Linked DNA regions of Homo sapiens: regions 1 and 2 are each linked to region 3. Evidence: promoter capture Hi-C in human tissues and cell types (Jung and others, 2019). All regions are on one chromosome and are shown on one strand. The core of a region is centred on a gene start or on the middle of the fragment in contact, and the rest is flanking DNA. Distances in the headings are between cores, read along the strand shown. Region 1 overlaps LOC107984238 (a long non-coding RNA gene). Region 2 has its middle 190 kb from the start of REEP3. Region 3 holds the start of JMJD1C (jumonji domain containing 1C).

Evidence for each region. The method cuts DNA at HindIII sites, captures the fragments that hold promoters and counts their contacts. A contact is called where the count stands out against the background at its distance.
Region 1: a contact is called between a fragment that was not itself captured here and the fragment with the promoter of JMJD1C in region 3, in 1 of the 25 tissues and cell types used here (aorta).
Region 2: a contact is called between a fragment that was not itself captured here and the fragment with the promoter of JMJD1C in region 3, in 2 of the 25 tissues and cell types used here (dorsolateral prefrontal cortex and spleen).

The regions. Positions count from the first base shown.
Region 1 is chr10:63,654,085-63,658,182 of GRCh38, forward strand. The region is part of intron 2 of LOC107984238 (a long non-coding RNA gene); the gene reads right to left. LOC101929846 (a long non-coding RNA gene) reads left to right here. Exons shown (of 3, transcript XR_946008.3): 3 at 420-611. Among named protein-coding and RNA genes, the nearest start is that of REEP3, 130 kb to the left of the region's middle. The HindIII fragment of the contact is 8,568 bases long and covers 1-4,098 here.
Region 2 is chr10:63,708,047-63,712,611 of GRCh38, forward strand. No RefSeq gene overlaps it. Among named protein-coding and RNA genes, the nearest start is that of REEP3, 190 kb to the left of the region's middle. RefSeq lists an enhancer at 1-66. The HindIII fragment of the contact is 3,232 bases long and covers 338-3,569 here.
Region 3 is chr10:63,463,285-63,467,782 of GRCh38, forward strand. JMJD1C (jumonji domain containing 1C) reads right to left here and starts at 2,693. Exons shown (of 26, transcript NM_032776.3): 1 at 2,211-2,693. The coding sequence starts at 2,378. It overlaps JMJD1C-AS1 (JMJD1C antisense RNA 1), which reads left to right and starts at 1,945. Exons shown (of 1, transcript NR_027182.1): 1 at 1,945-3,279. RefSeq lists silencers at 1,806-2,145, 2,686-2,835 and enhancers at 1,925-2,714, 2,336-2,405, 2,486-2,655, 3,106-3,155. The HindIII fragment of the contact is 6,698 bases long and covers 1-4,498 here.

The sequences.
Region 1 (4,098 bases), core at 999-3,498, 190 kb after region 3:
CCTTTGCAATTTTGCAAACATATATGCCAACTGCCTAACTGATTGATAATATTACTAACTATATACTTATGAAGTGGTTTGGACTTTATGGAAGACTATTTTAGGTAATATAAATTCTTTAGGATGCAAACACAATTTTCTTAACCCAAAAGACAAAAATTCCCATCTTCTTCGTTGAGAAACACTAAGTAATGCATGATAATTACAACCAATAAGATATTGCTGAGTGCATAGTCTATGCTAGGCATTGCTCTAAATAATTCAGTATAGTCTCTTTTCCTACCATAGCACGCCAGCCATTGAAATGTATATAGAAGAACTAATGTAGTGAATGGGCCGTGTTAAATAATTTTATTGTTTGTTTATTAACACATTTAACAGAGAAGTCTGGCTTCACCTTCCTTTTCTTTACTTCTTAGGGTTGGAAACAATGCCATGTGAGCAGAAGAGAAATTGCTTTCATCCCTTTTTCTACCTGATGGTCTTATATTATGATATGGTTTGGCTGTGCGCCCACCCAAATCTCATCTTGAATTGTAGTTCCCATAATCCCCGTATGTCATGGGTGAGACCTCATGGGAGGTAAATAAATTATGGAAGTGGTTCCCCCATGCTGTTCTCATGATAGTGAGTGAGTTCTCATGAGATCTGAATGGTTTTATAAGTGGTTTTTCCCCGCTTTGCTCTGCACTTCTCTCTCCTGCCACCATGTGAAGAAGGATGTGTTTGCTTCCCCTTCTGCCCTGATTGTAAGTTTCTGGAGGCCTCCCAAGCCATGCGGAACTGTGAGTCAATGAAACCTCTTTCCTTTATAAATTACCCAGTCTCAGGCCAGGCACAGTGGCTCACGCCTGTAATCCCAGCACTTGGGGAGGCTGAGGTGGGCGGATTGCCTGAGGTCAGGAGTTCGAGACCAGTCTGGCTAACATGGTGAAATCCCGTCTCTACTAAAAATACAGAATTAGCCAGGCATGATGGCGTGTGCCTGTAATGCCAGATACTTGGGAGGCTGAGGCAGGGGAATTGCTTGAACCAGGGAGGTGGAGGTTGCAGTGGGCCAAGGTCACGCCACTGTACTCCAGTCTGGGCGACAGAGCAAGACTCCATCTCAAAAATAAATAAATAAATAAATAAATAAATAAATAAATAACCTAGTCTCTGGTATTTCTTCATAGCAGTTTGAGAATGGACTAATACATATTATAATATCCTTATTTTCCTGATGAAGAAGTTGAGGTTCAGAGAAGTTAAGGTCCCATGGGTAGTAAATGTTTAAGTCAGGCTTATATGGTAATTTATCTAATTCCAGAGTCCATGGTCTTGACAAATATACTATAAACTGCCTCTAATGTTTATTAAAGTTTATAATAATTGGCAGTGGCTTTTTAAATTATTTTTGAAGAGTTACCTTTACATTTAAAAAAAATAAAATCAAGGTAATATTTAAAAGAATGTTAAGACAAGAATCTGGAAACATGAGTTCTAACCAGAACCTATCATGAATGAGGGGAAACCTGGAAATTACTTAACTTCTATTCTCAATTAGGTATCCATATAAAAATTTTATTATTTTATTCCAAGGCTCTTATAAACAACTTTACAGAAAAATTAAAAAGTTATCTAGTGGTTCATCTGTACCTTGTCTCTACACATATATTTTTAAAATTTGTTGTAATCACTGTATCAGTGCTATTTTGTGATTGCTTTGTAATTTTTATTTTCTAAATTATGAAAGCCAGAGAATAGTGATTTAGAATAAATTATCATAAAAAAGAACTAATCTAGATAAACAGTGCTATGGCCTGAATTTTTGTGTCCATCCAAAATTTAACCCCCAAGGTGATGGCATTAGGAGGTGGGGCCTTGGGAGGAAATTGGGACATGAGAGCAGGGCCCTCATGAATGGGATTTGTGCCTTTATAAGACACCCCACAGAGCTCCCTTGCTCCTTCCACCATGTGAGGACTCAGCAAAAGATGGCCATCTATAAACCAAGCAGGCCCTCCCCAGGCACAGAATCTACCAGCTCCTTCATCTAAGGCTTCCCAGCCTCTAGACTATGAGAAATAAATTTCTATTGTTTATAAACCACTCCATTTACAGTACTTTATAATAGTAACCCAAACAGACTAAGACGGGAATTTTTAATTCGACTGCACATTAGAAACACCTGGATGGGGATGGTGGGGGTGAGTGGGGGTAATTTTGAAAAAATACGGTCTTTGGCCAGGCACAGTGGCTTATGCCTGTAATCCCAGCACTTTGGGAGGCTGAGGCTGGTGGATCACTTGAGGCCAGGAGCTCGAGACCAGCCTGGCTAACATGGTGAAAGCCCATCTCTACTAAAAATACAAAAATTAAATGGGCTTGGTGGCGTGTGCCTGTAATCCCAGCTACTTGGGAGGCTGAGGTGGGAGAATTGCTTGAACCCAGGAGGCGGAGGCTGCAGTGAGCTGAGATTGTTCCACTGTACTCCAGCCTGGGCGACAGAGCAAGACTCTGTCTCAAAACAGACAAACAAAAAAATGGTCTTGGAGCAATAAACCAATTTTATCAGAATCTCAGGAGTGGGGACTGGACATCAATATTTTTAAAATGCCCCTCTCTCCCATTATTTTAATATGTAGCTGAAGTTTATATTATAGTTATATACTGCAAGTACTTTTGCTCCAGCCTAATAACTGGTCATCTAGAATAGATCATTGTTTATTGCATTATGATCTCTGATAACTGCTCAACTGCCTTCTCAAAAGTCAACTAACTCAGTAATACAGGAGTCTAATGTACCATCAATTATTAATCCCAAACAATACTTCCTTATTCTAATAGTACAAGTTAGGTTCAAAATACTTCTTGTTCAATAACAATTTCAAGTCAGCCATTATAGTTTGTTTAATGGCTATATTAATCTCTGAGTCCTTAATAATTATAGAAGTAGAATGGTTCCCTGAGTACTAGATATTTGTAATGTGAAAGGAAGATAAGGAGCATCTGGCAGTCTGAAAAAAAGTTGGGGTAATCCCAGCACTTTGGGAGGCTGAGGTGGGTGGATCACCTGAGGTCAGGAGTTCAAGACCAGCCAGACTAACAAGGTGAAACCCATCTCTACTAAAAATACAAAAATTAGCTGGGCATGGTGGCAGGTGCCTGTAGTCCCAACTACTCGGGAGGCTGAGACAGGAGAATCGCTTGAACCCGGGAGGTGGGGGTTGCAGTGAGCTGAGATCGCACTACTGCACTCCAGCCTGGGTGATGGAGCAAGACTCTGTCTCAAAAAACAAACAAACAAAAAAGGTGTGGGTTGAGGGTTTGAGTTTTGAAGCTCCCTTTTGAATTCTACGTTGGTTTATTTTGAAATCTTTATTTTAAAAGTAAAACAATGACATAACTTTACGTTTTTTCTCCCAAATTCTTCAGTTCCTAAATGTCAGAAGTTACCTCCACAGTGAAATGGGACCCAGAGATTTTCATTAATTAATCTCCAGGAAATTCAGCAGTAAAACTTAAATTTATATTCAATGATATGGAAACTCTCCTATCACCAGAGGACTTTGAAAGCCATGGTGAATGAGATCCACTTCTAGATCAGGACACAAAGGAGACTCAGCTGTTTGGATGGCTGATTAAAGGAATCATCTGAAATTCCACAGTCATAACATTGGAAAACAGACATGGTTGTAACTTATTTATTTACTTAACCATCTGATCTCAGGCACGAGAGGAAAGAACATTATTATATAATTCACAAATGGGCCTGCAGTTCATTGCACCTGATATATTCGAAAGGCTTATTTGGGCCCATCCTGCTGCCCAAGAAGGCCCACTCTCTGGTCAGAGTGCAGTCATTGGCCATGGCGCCACTGATAGAGGTCAATCTGAGAACCATCTAGGGAATGAGGACCAGGGAAAAGGCTCCCCTAACCCTCCATCTGGTGTGAACTGCCTGCCAGAACACATGGAGAACCCTCCCTCTGGGAGCTGCAGCACTCGAGCAGCAGCAAGGAAAGAAAAAGCCAGGTGTAGCCAGTGTTGCTTAAGGTCTTTCTGCTTGTTTATCACCTTTGGCCTCTTATTTGTAACCCTACTGTGGATAATAGA
Region 2 (4,565 bases), core at 704-3,203, 240 kb after region 3:
ACTGTGTAAAAATGGCTTTGTCAACTGTGAATGCAGTTCAGTGTTCATGGCTTGTGTTGGCGATTAAGTTTGGAGGCTGAGGAGAAAAGCAACTAAAGCATCTCCGACATTGTTTGGTGAAATGTATTAACTTTGGTGACCTCCTCAAGGCAGACCAATCTCATCCTCAGTAGGTAACTATACCGATAAAGTCAAAGCTATGTAAGTTAAGGTTTGTTTTAATGGCAAGCAATAGAAACCCCTTTTAACTAACATAAGCCAAAAAGGGAATATTGGATGGTTGAATAAAAGGAGGTGCATAATAACTAAGCCTCAGAGCACTTTGGGGGCCCCTCATTAGGTACTTCTAGACCTTCTATGGTTCTGTTGACTGCTAACCCTGCTCCAACAACCTTCTGTATCTGTTTCTCATAATTTACGTTTCAAATTCCCAGAGGATGATCCACTAATTGGCCTCACTCAGTAGGTGCATCTCCCTTTGGGACAATCATCCCTGACTGAGGGGCTAGCTGCACGATTCCCTCTGGAGAACCGTTATGAGCAGCACATCCCAACTTGTGTCTGTACAGAGACTGTTTTGTTCTCCAACTTCCTTCTCTTCCAGCCCCAGTCATAACACTGTTTTCATCTATCCTGTAGATGAGTGCATTCAAAGTTCTATGTTTACAGAGGTCACCGGGGGATCTCGTTAAAGTGCAGATTCTCATCCAGTAGACTTGGGGCACTACCTGAGATTCTGTATTTATAGTAAATTACCAGGTGATGCCAACAATGCTGGTTCTGGAACTGCGTTTTCAGGAGCAAGCCTGTATTAGGTGTTCTTGATGCCAAACTAGTATCTATTCTCTCCTCCCCCTTTCCTGGTAGCAGAGAAGTCTTTATCTAAGGATCCACTTCCATCCCTATACAGTCCATGTGCTTTGGGGGAAATTAAACACACTCCTAGCGCTCGTGATGGGTACCAATTGCTTTAAGCTAATCAGTCATTCAAGGTGATTTCAATGTCCCAGAACCTGAAACAGTGGCTAATATGTAGTAGGTATTCCATAAATATTTGTTCAATGAATATATGAGTTGATGTGAGCATAAATGTGTGAATTAAGGGCCAGGCGTGGTGGCTTACACCTGTAATCACACAACTTTGGGAGGTCGAGGTGGGCAGATCACTTGACCTCAGGAGTTCGAGACCAACCTGGGCAACATGGTGAAACCTTGTCTCTACAAAAAATACAAAGATTAGCCAGGCATTGTGGCGGGTGACTGTGGTCCCAGCTACTTGGGAGGCCGAGGTGGGAGGATTGCTTGAGTCTGGGAGGTGGAGGTTACTGTGAGCTGAGATCGTACTACTGCACTCCAGCCTGGGTGACAGAGTAAGAACCTGTCTCAAAACAACAACAACAACAACAACAAATATGTCAATTAAACTTACTCGATTTAGGTGAATCTCAGGACACTGGCTGGAATGCTGGTCTAGAAGCCCTCTTTGCCATCAGATGTAACTATTAGAGACTTGATTGTGACTGTCAGCATTTCTACAACCATTGGGAGAGTCAGCCTTAAAAAAAGGCTGACACGGCTGGGCGCAGTGGCTTAACGCCTGTAATCCCAGCACTTTGGGAGGCCAAGGCCGGTGGATCACGAGGTCAGGAGTCCAAGACCAGCCTGGGCAAGATGGTGAAACCCCGTCTCTACTAAAAATACAAAAATTAGCCAGGTGTGGTGGAGGGTGCCTGTAATCCCAGCTACTAGGGAGGCTGAGGCAGAGAATTACTTGAACCCAGGAGGTGGAGGTTGCAGCGAGCCGAGATCATGCCACTGCACTATAGCCTGGGCAACAGAGTAAGACTCCATCTCAAAAAAAAAAAAAAAAGGAAAAAGCTGACATGGCTGGGCGCCGTGGCTCACGCCTGTAATCCCAGCACATTGGGAGGCTGCAGCAGGCGGATCACCTGCGGTAAGGAGTTCGAGACAGCCTGGCTGACATGGCGAAACCCCATCTCTACTAAAAATACAAGAAAAATTAGCCGGGTGTGGTGGCGGGCACCTGTAATCCCATCTACTTGGGAGGCTGAGGCAGGAGAATCACTTGAATCCAGGAGGTGGAGGTTGCAGTGAGCTGAGATAGTGCCATTGCACTCCAGCCTGGGCAACAAGAGCGAAACTCCATCTCAAAAAAAAAAAAAAAAAAAAGAAAAAGAAAAATGCTGACACTAGTGAAGGTAGGACAGAGAGAGAGAAATGGGCCATTGATAGCATCATTAAAACACTGGATTAACTACTCTATGCCCACCCTAACAATTATGTGAAACAATAAATTCCCTTCAATTTTAAAGCCAGTTTTAGTTGGATTTTCTGTTACAACACAAAGAGTCTTAATCAACAATGGGGAAATGACTTATTCCATTCCTAGGCCATCCCACTTTGGTACAATGTGGGTTCCTTCATAGTCACCCTGGTCAGAAAACACCAGGATCAGAAGGCGTTCCAAAATACCCCTTGGTATGAATTTAGAAACAGGCTTTATTGTAGAAACATACAAAGCAAGTGTCAGCAGGCAAAAGAGTCATCTACAATCTCCCAGCCTTTCATGAATCCAAGAAAATGAATCTTTTAGAATATGGCAAGTTATGTTTTAGGGGAAGGACTCTACCTCCTTATTGCTTTCCATGTGGAGAGAGGATCAGAACAACTTATCAGTGGGGATGGAAATAGGTACTGGGGCACCAGGCAGTCTGAGTTATGTGTTAGATGTTCTGAGAAGTTGTCTGGGAAAGCCAGCTTTCCAGTTCTGGAGATTTGAGGACTGTGGAGAGTGGTAGCTCATATGAGTAGGGTGGGAAAGAAACTGCCAGTTCTGTGGGAAGCTAAATTTAGGGCAGCCCACCCCACTGGGAGAAGGGGGGAAGCCCCTGTTCCACTTGGCTTGTCCAAGCCACCCCAAGTGACCTCCCAGAGTCCCTTTTAGACAACTTTGCTTGTCATACACCAAACTAAACCCTTGACCCAGCCAGTTGCTTAAAATCCTTCATCTGCTTCACCACTGCCTTCAGGGTAAAGTCCAAGGAGTTGGTTGTCCGAGAGTCACCATCTGGCCCAACCCAACTATTTGGTCTTTCCGTGTCACCCTCCACCTTATACTGTAAACTCCAACTGTCCTGGATGACCTGCTGTGCTCCAAGCATTTCATGTAACAAAAGCTTTCAGTGTCTGGAAGACTTTTGCACCATGCGTCTTCCTGGAATGTATCTTGCTGAGCACTCTGTCCCCCAAATTTTGTCATGATCAAAGCCTGCTCATCATCTGTTTCAGCTCCACTGTTTCTCTCTCTGGAAAACATTCCCAGATCTTTAATCCCCATACCCTGCATAATTAATCATTGCTTCCTCAGAGTTCCCATGGCACTTGGTTCACACTGCTAGCATGCACTTATCACCTTGTTAAGCAACACATCCACGGCCTCCCCTAGATTACCAGTTTCCTGAGCACAGAGACCTTGTCTTACTTGTCTTTACAGCTTAAGCCGTACTGGGCTGCTCTCCATGGGACTGAGCCTGCTGGCCGCACTGTGGCATCCTGCCCTTTATTCTGTATTAGGGAGCATACCTTACGGCCAAGGCTTACTGAGCAGTTGTACAGGCCTTTCCCTGGTGATAAGAGAATCTGAAGAGGACTAGGTACACCTTGTCAAAATGCTGGAATTTGTATCCAGGTTGGAGAGTGCCTAACACATTTGGGAAGAAACAAAATTGGGGTAAGAAGCAGCCCGATTTTTTAAAATAAGTTCTTAAAGGGTCAGTGGGACCGAATGCCTTGAGGAATAGCTACTGATACAGAAGATGACCTAGTTTGTAAAAAGAACAGCATAATATTTTAAATAAAGGTTTTCCTCCTTTTGACCTTTTTCCAGTATGACTGTATTGCTGTTAACTTTATTACTGAAGCTTAATGCCCACGATACCAGGAAGCACTTCTAGAAACAGCTGTGAATGTGGCCATTCATGGGTTTTGCCCCCACCATCAGGGCATGTGGGGAGGGATTTCTGTTTCCGCTGCCATGGTGCCTGTGTTTTTCCTGTGAGTACTAATGAAAGGCCCTTAAATTAGACCACACAGAGTTAAGGGAAATTGTTTATTCCTTCATTTTCATCATACCAAGGAACTTCAGAGATTTGGATCTATACACTTTGACCTCTAAGGAGTTTTAGAACAAAGGTGTGATGTCCAGAAAGATAAGAATCAGCAGGTCACATGGCTTTTCTGAAGGTTTATTCAGTCATCCCAGGACATCTAAAGGCAGGCAGATGCCAAAGTACACACGGGGCATTGGGTGTGAGCCTGATGAGAGCAGAGACCGGGAGGCCTAATGGAGGGGCTGGCACAGTGACAGTCTTCAGGACTAGTCTGGCCTGTGCAGCAGCTGCACATGTTCCTGGGATCAGAGCCAGCTGGTGGCTCATGGCAGTGGTTTCTGGGTCCTGGCTCCACCCCAAGACAGGCTCGAGCTCCTTAGCCCTGACCTGGCAATAGCTTTGTTCTGGCTTCACACTGAAGTTTGGCTGCTGAGC
Region 3 (4,498 bases), core at 1,443-3,942:
CCGCCCCAGTAGATGGAACCACAGGCATTGTACTACTATGCCCGGCTAATTTCTGTATTTTTTGTAGGGACAGGGTTTCGCCATGTTGCCCAGGCTAGTCTCAAAACTCCTGCGCTCAAGTATCTTCCCATCTCAGTCTCCCAAAGTGTTGGGTTTACAGGCGTGAGCCACTGTGCCTAGCCTAATTTCATGTAACTTAAAATCTACTCTGCAGTAATCAAAGTCGAACAGGAATATTACATTATGTTAATGCTAAACTGTTCCAAGTTTCGTTTAAGAAATGTGAATGTAAGAAAATCTGGGAATAAATCTAAAATGGTAGATTCTAGGCTAAAAAAACTAAATTAATATTCAAATTTTCAAATAAAGACAGATTAAAAAAACTCATCAAGGGTTCACATAGGTATGGTTCAACATACATTTTTCTTTTTTTGGTAAAATTTAGATATGGTGAAACGCAAAGATAGTATCAATTCAACGAGTTTTGACAAATATATATATCTGTGTAACCAACAATCAGGATAGGAAACATTTCTATCACCTGAAGAAACTCCTATTCTTTCCAGTCAATCTCTACCATCCATAGATAATTTATTTTTTAATATCCAGCTTAATACCTTACTAACATATGCAAACTTAACTCTTTAATCACTTAAATTCCCAACTAAGAGAGCAATTAAGTTATTTATATATACAAATTTTTTTTTTCCTTTTTTACAGATGAGGGGGTCTCACCTATGTTGCCCAGGCTGGACTCTTAATAAGTCCTGGGCTCTAGCAATCCTCTTACCTCAGCCTTTTACACAAACAAAAATAGTTACTGAATTGAACTGCCATAATTTTTAGAACCACTAACATCACCAATACTTTTTAAGGAAGATTATACATTTCTATACGAAAATAACCAGCCAAAACCTTCAAAACTACCTCTATTTTCTGTTAGAAATACCTATCAGCAAAACACACCTATTTTGCGATATCGAGTCAATATTAATACATGCCGCATTAACCATATCATTGACTACAGTGAGGAAAACCCGAGTTTACAAAAACACACTCAGAAACTATTAAAATAGGTAGGTAAAAAATATTAGGTAGATACCTGTACAAATATTACAATGAATTTGGAATTGTAAGCTTTCATGCACACAAAGGGAAAAAAATTTCCTAAATTTGAAGTTTTCATTGAAAAAGTAAATGGCTCAGGGCATTACAAATAAATTTCACAGATTACGTATTCATAAATCAACCTTTGGAAGTCTAGTCCATGTCTTGTCTCTACTCCGCCCCTTACCTTCAAGCTGTCCCTCAGTGAGAATGTACTTGGAACACAACAGAGCATATTACAGCTCAATATCATGCACATACCTACGCTACTCAAAGAAAGCACTGGCAGCGTCACATGTAAGAAACCAAAAAAAAAAAAAGATAATCAATTCTGCATGGCATTTAACATTTTAATTGACAACATTTTTCGTCTTATTTAAAATCGTATAAAACCCAGAAACAGCTTGACTCCAAAGAACTATACCTTTCTAACAAGAAAAGCACATTGGGGACAGAAAGAGAGATTACCCTCCATACCAAAATTTTTCACTTTTATCCTTTACGGTTAGAAAGCCAAGCATCTATTAAGGAGAGGATGAATCCGGGCACAGCCACCACCACGGCCTCTGCCTCTAAAACACATAGGAATCCCCGGACTGTGTGGGAAGGTCTCTTTTCTTTTCTCCCTCCCCTTCAGCAACCTTACAGGATAAGTTTTAAGTCTCGAGCTACAGCACTATGAAGACTTTTCCAAGAAAAGAGATACCAGGGAAGCTGGCCGCCTGTCGCCATGAGTGGTCCGCCCCCTACCCCCACCTGCCCGCGCGGCGCCGGACTCGCGGCTCCGCCTTTCGGGGAGGTCTCCGTGGCCGCCCAGGCGCCACAGCGGGGAGCCGCGGTCGACCCCTCCGGGATGGGGGCCAGGGCAGCCTCCGCGGCTATCCCGGGAGTCCTGCTCCGACACCACCTCCACAGGGGAAGCCGCTCGGAGAGACGCAGGGACCCAGGCAAGGGATGCGGGCAAACGCGCCAAGGGTTCAGCAGAGGGGCGTGACCGCCAGTTGGCCGGGCTGAGCGAGGCGCCAGAGGGAAGCCTGCAAGGTACGTCTGCGAGAGCCGGGTGCGGGCGCGGCAGGGGAAAAGGGGGGCGCTGACTCTCTTACCGCCAGGTCCGGATTGCGGCTGTCCCTGTGTGACACGGCTCGGATGACCCCCGCTCGCCAGCTTCGCCAGCCGCGTCCGCTCTCCCAGCGCTCCGAACGTGCCTCGTCGCCGACCGCCACACACAGGAACCGCTTACCCACCAGCTCTGCCCGCGTCTCTACCGCCATAGCTGTCGCTGCCGAAGCGGCCGCTGCCTCCTCCAGTGCGAGGGAACCGATGAAACCTCACTCCTACCGGCCGCTCATGCTGAGGAGAGCGGACCGGGACACAGCAGCGGACCCGAAAGAGCGCAGACTCGGGACGAACCGGCCGCTCTGCCCCGGACACAGCGACCTCGGGCCCTCCCCGCAAACACTCCTTTGGACTCCCAGATTCGCAGCCTTGTGCTGCAGCGCCACACAAGAAAACTGAAACAAAACCCAACGCGGCCGTCGAAGACCCCGAGGCAGCCCAGCCGCCGCCACCGCGCCGCGGCCAGTACTGCTCCGTCTCCCTCCCCGGGCAGCGGCGGCGCGCAGCGCGTCTCCTTCCGCCGGCGCGGGCGGGGCAGCAGCCGCGGGAGGGTCGGCGGAACCACCGCAGACGGAAAGTAGTGCCCGGCCCTGCGGAGGCGGCAGCGGCCACTGGGTCCGTCCAGATCCAGAGGCGGCGGCGGCGGCGGCAGCGGGAGACGAAAAAATGAAGAGGGCCGCGGGAAAGTAGGCGACAGCTATTCAAAGCTTTTGGGGGTCTACCTTTGTATTCGTTGCTCCCTCAGAGGTGGAGGTGAGGGGAAAGTGAAGTGTAGTGGTTCCACTCTGATCACAAAATAAACTCCTGGGTTGACGCCTCACCCGCGGTTTGATGTTCAGAGCACACAGCGCCCGCCGCCTGAGTTAGCCTGAATTAGCAGTCCCGCAGTAACAGCAGCAGAGCAGGACAACACTTCTACTGAAAACTAAGCCCCAAAGTCACAGCAGAACCAACCGTTCATGACTTCAAGGGAAAACGAGGGGGAAAATGTGATCCTTTCATTCTTCTCATTTGTGGTGATACTAATTACATGTTTAAGCTATTCACAGATTTAAATTCGTCACTGCTTTATTATAAGAACAGCAAATGCTCCGTGGCGGGCCCTTGTCAACGTCCTGAAATTTCACAAACCGTGTCTGCGACAGTCTTAGTACTTTTAGTACTGGTACACAGCTCAAACACACTGGTCAGATAATAAAAGCAGAGAAAATCCCCAGATTCAGTTATTAGAAAATACCATGGAAAGAAAAGGATTTTAGCCAATCACAATTCAAGAAAAAAAATATTTATTTCCCATCCAATTACAATCGGACTCCCTAACCCACACAAAGATCTCTAACTTGGAACAATCACTCTTCTTTGATCAACTTATTTGTTATAAATCAAACCTCCCTACAAATGTCAGTGAGCAGTTCGATTTCAGGCACCCTTTATACTGCTTTTTTATAGGTAGTCCAATATTCTAAATTTCAGTTTCTTGAGATTTTCCTGAACCTCTATTTAAAAAAAAAAAGTTAACAGAGTTTACAGTAGTAATCTGAATGTTTAAAATAACTATAAGGCTTTTATCTGTTTTCTCTAGAACACTCAAGCTGGGCAATTTGAAGTGGAGAAACACAACCACTGCTAATAGGTTAGAAACCAAAATTATAAGGAAGATGGATTTTAATAATCATGGTCAAATTTTGCCAAAGACCAAACATAGAACTGTAATAAATAGGCTGGGCACGGTGCCTCACGCCTGTAATCCCTGCACTTTAGGAGGCAGATCACCTGAGGTCGGGAGTTCGAGACCAGCCTGGCCAACATGATGAAACTAAATGTATTTTTAGTCTCTACTAAAAATACAAAAAATTAGCTGGGCATGGTGGAGCATGCCTGTAATCCCAGCTACTCAGGAGGCAGCAGGAGAATCACTTGAACCTGGGAGCTGGAGGTTGCAGTGAGCCGGGATCGTGCCACTGCACTCCAACCTGGTCAACAAGAGCAAAACTCAGTCCCCCCGAAAACAAACAAACAAACAAAAAACCTGTAATAAATTAAAACAGCAAAACATACCCAAAAATGCATATCGGCAAGTTGAGAGAAAAAATTTTGCTTGGGCAATTTTATTTCCAAGTCCACTTTTTCAGTGTACACTGTATAATACTTAGCAAATTATCTTAAGAATTACAGATGAAGATTTCTAAAATCAGTGTAGATTAAGGAACCAGTAAAGTGACTTGGTGACAATAATTCAACATATGTAAGGATAAAAGAGTAGGGAGATCAACAT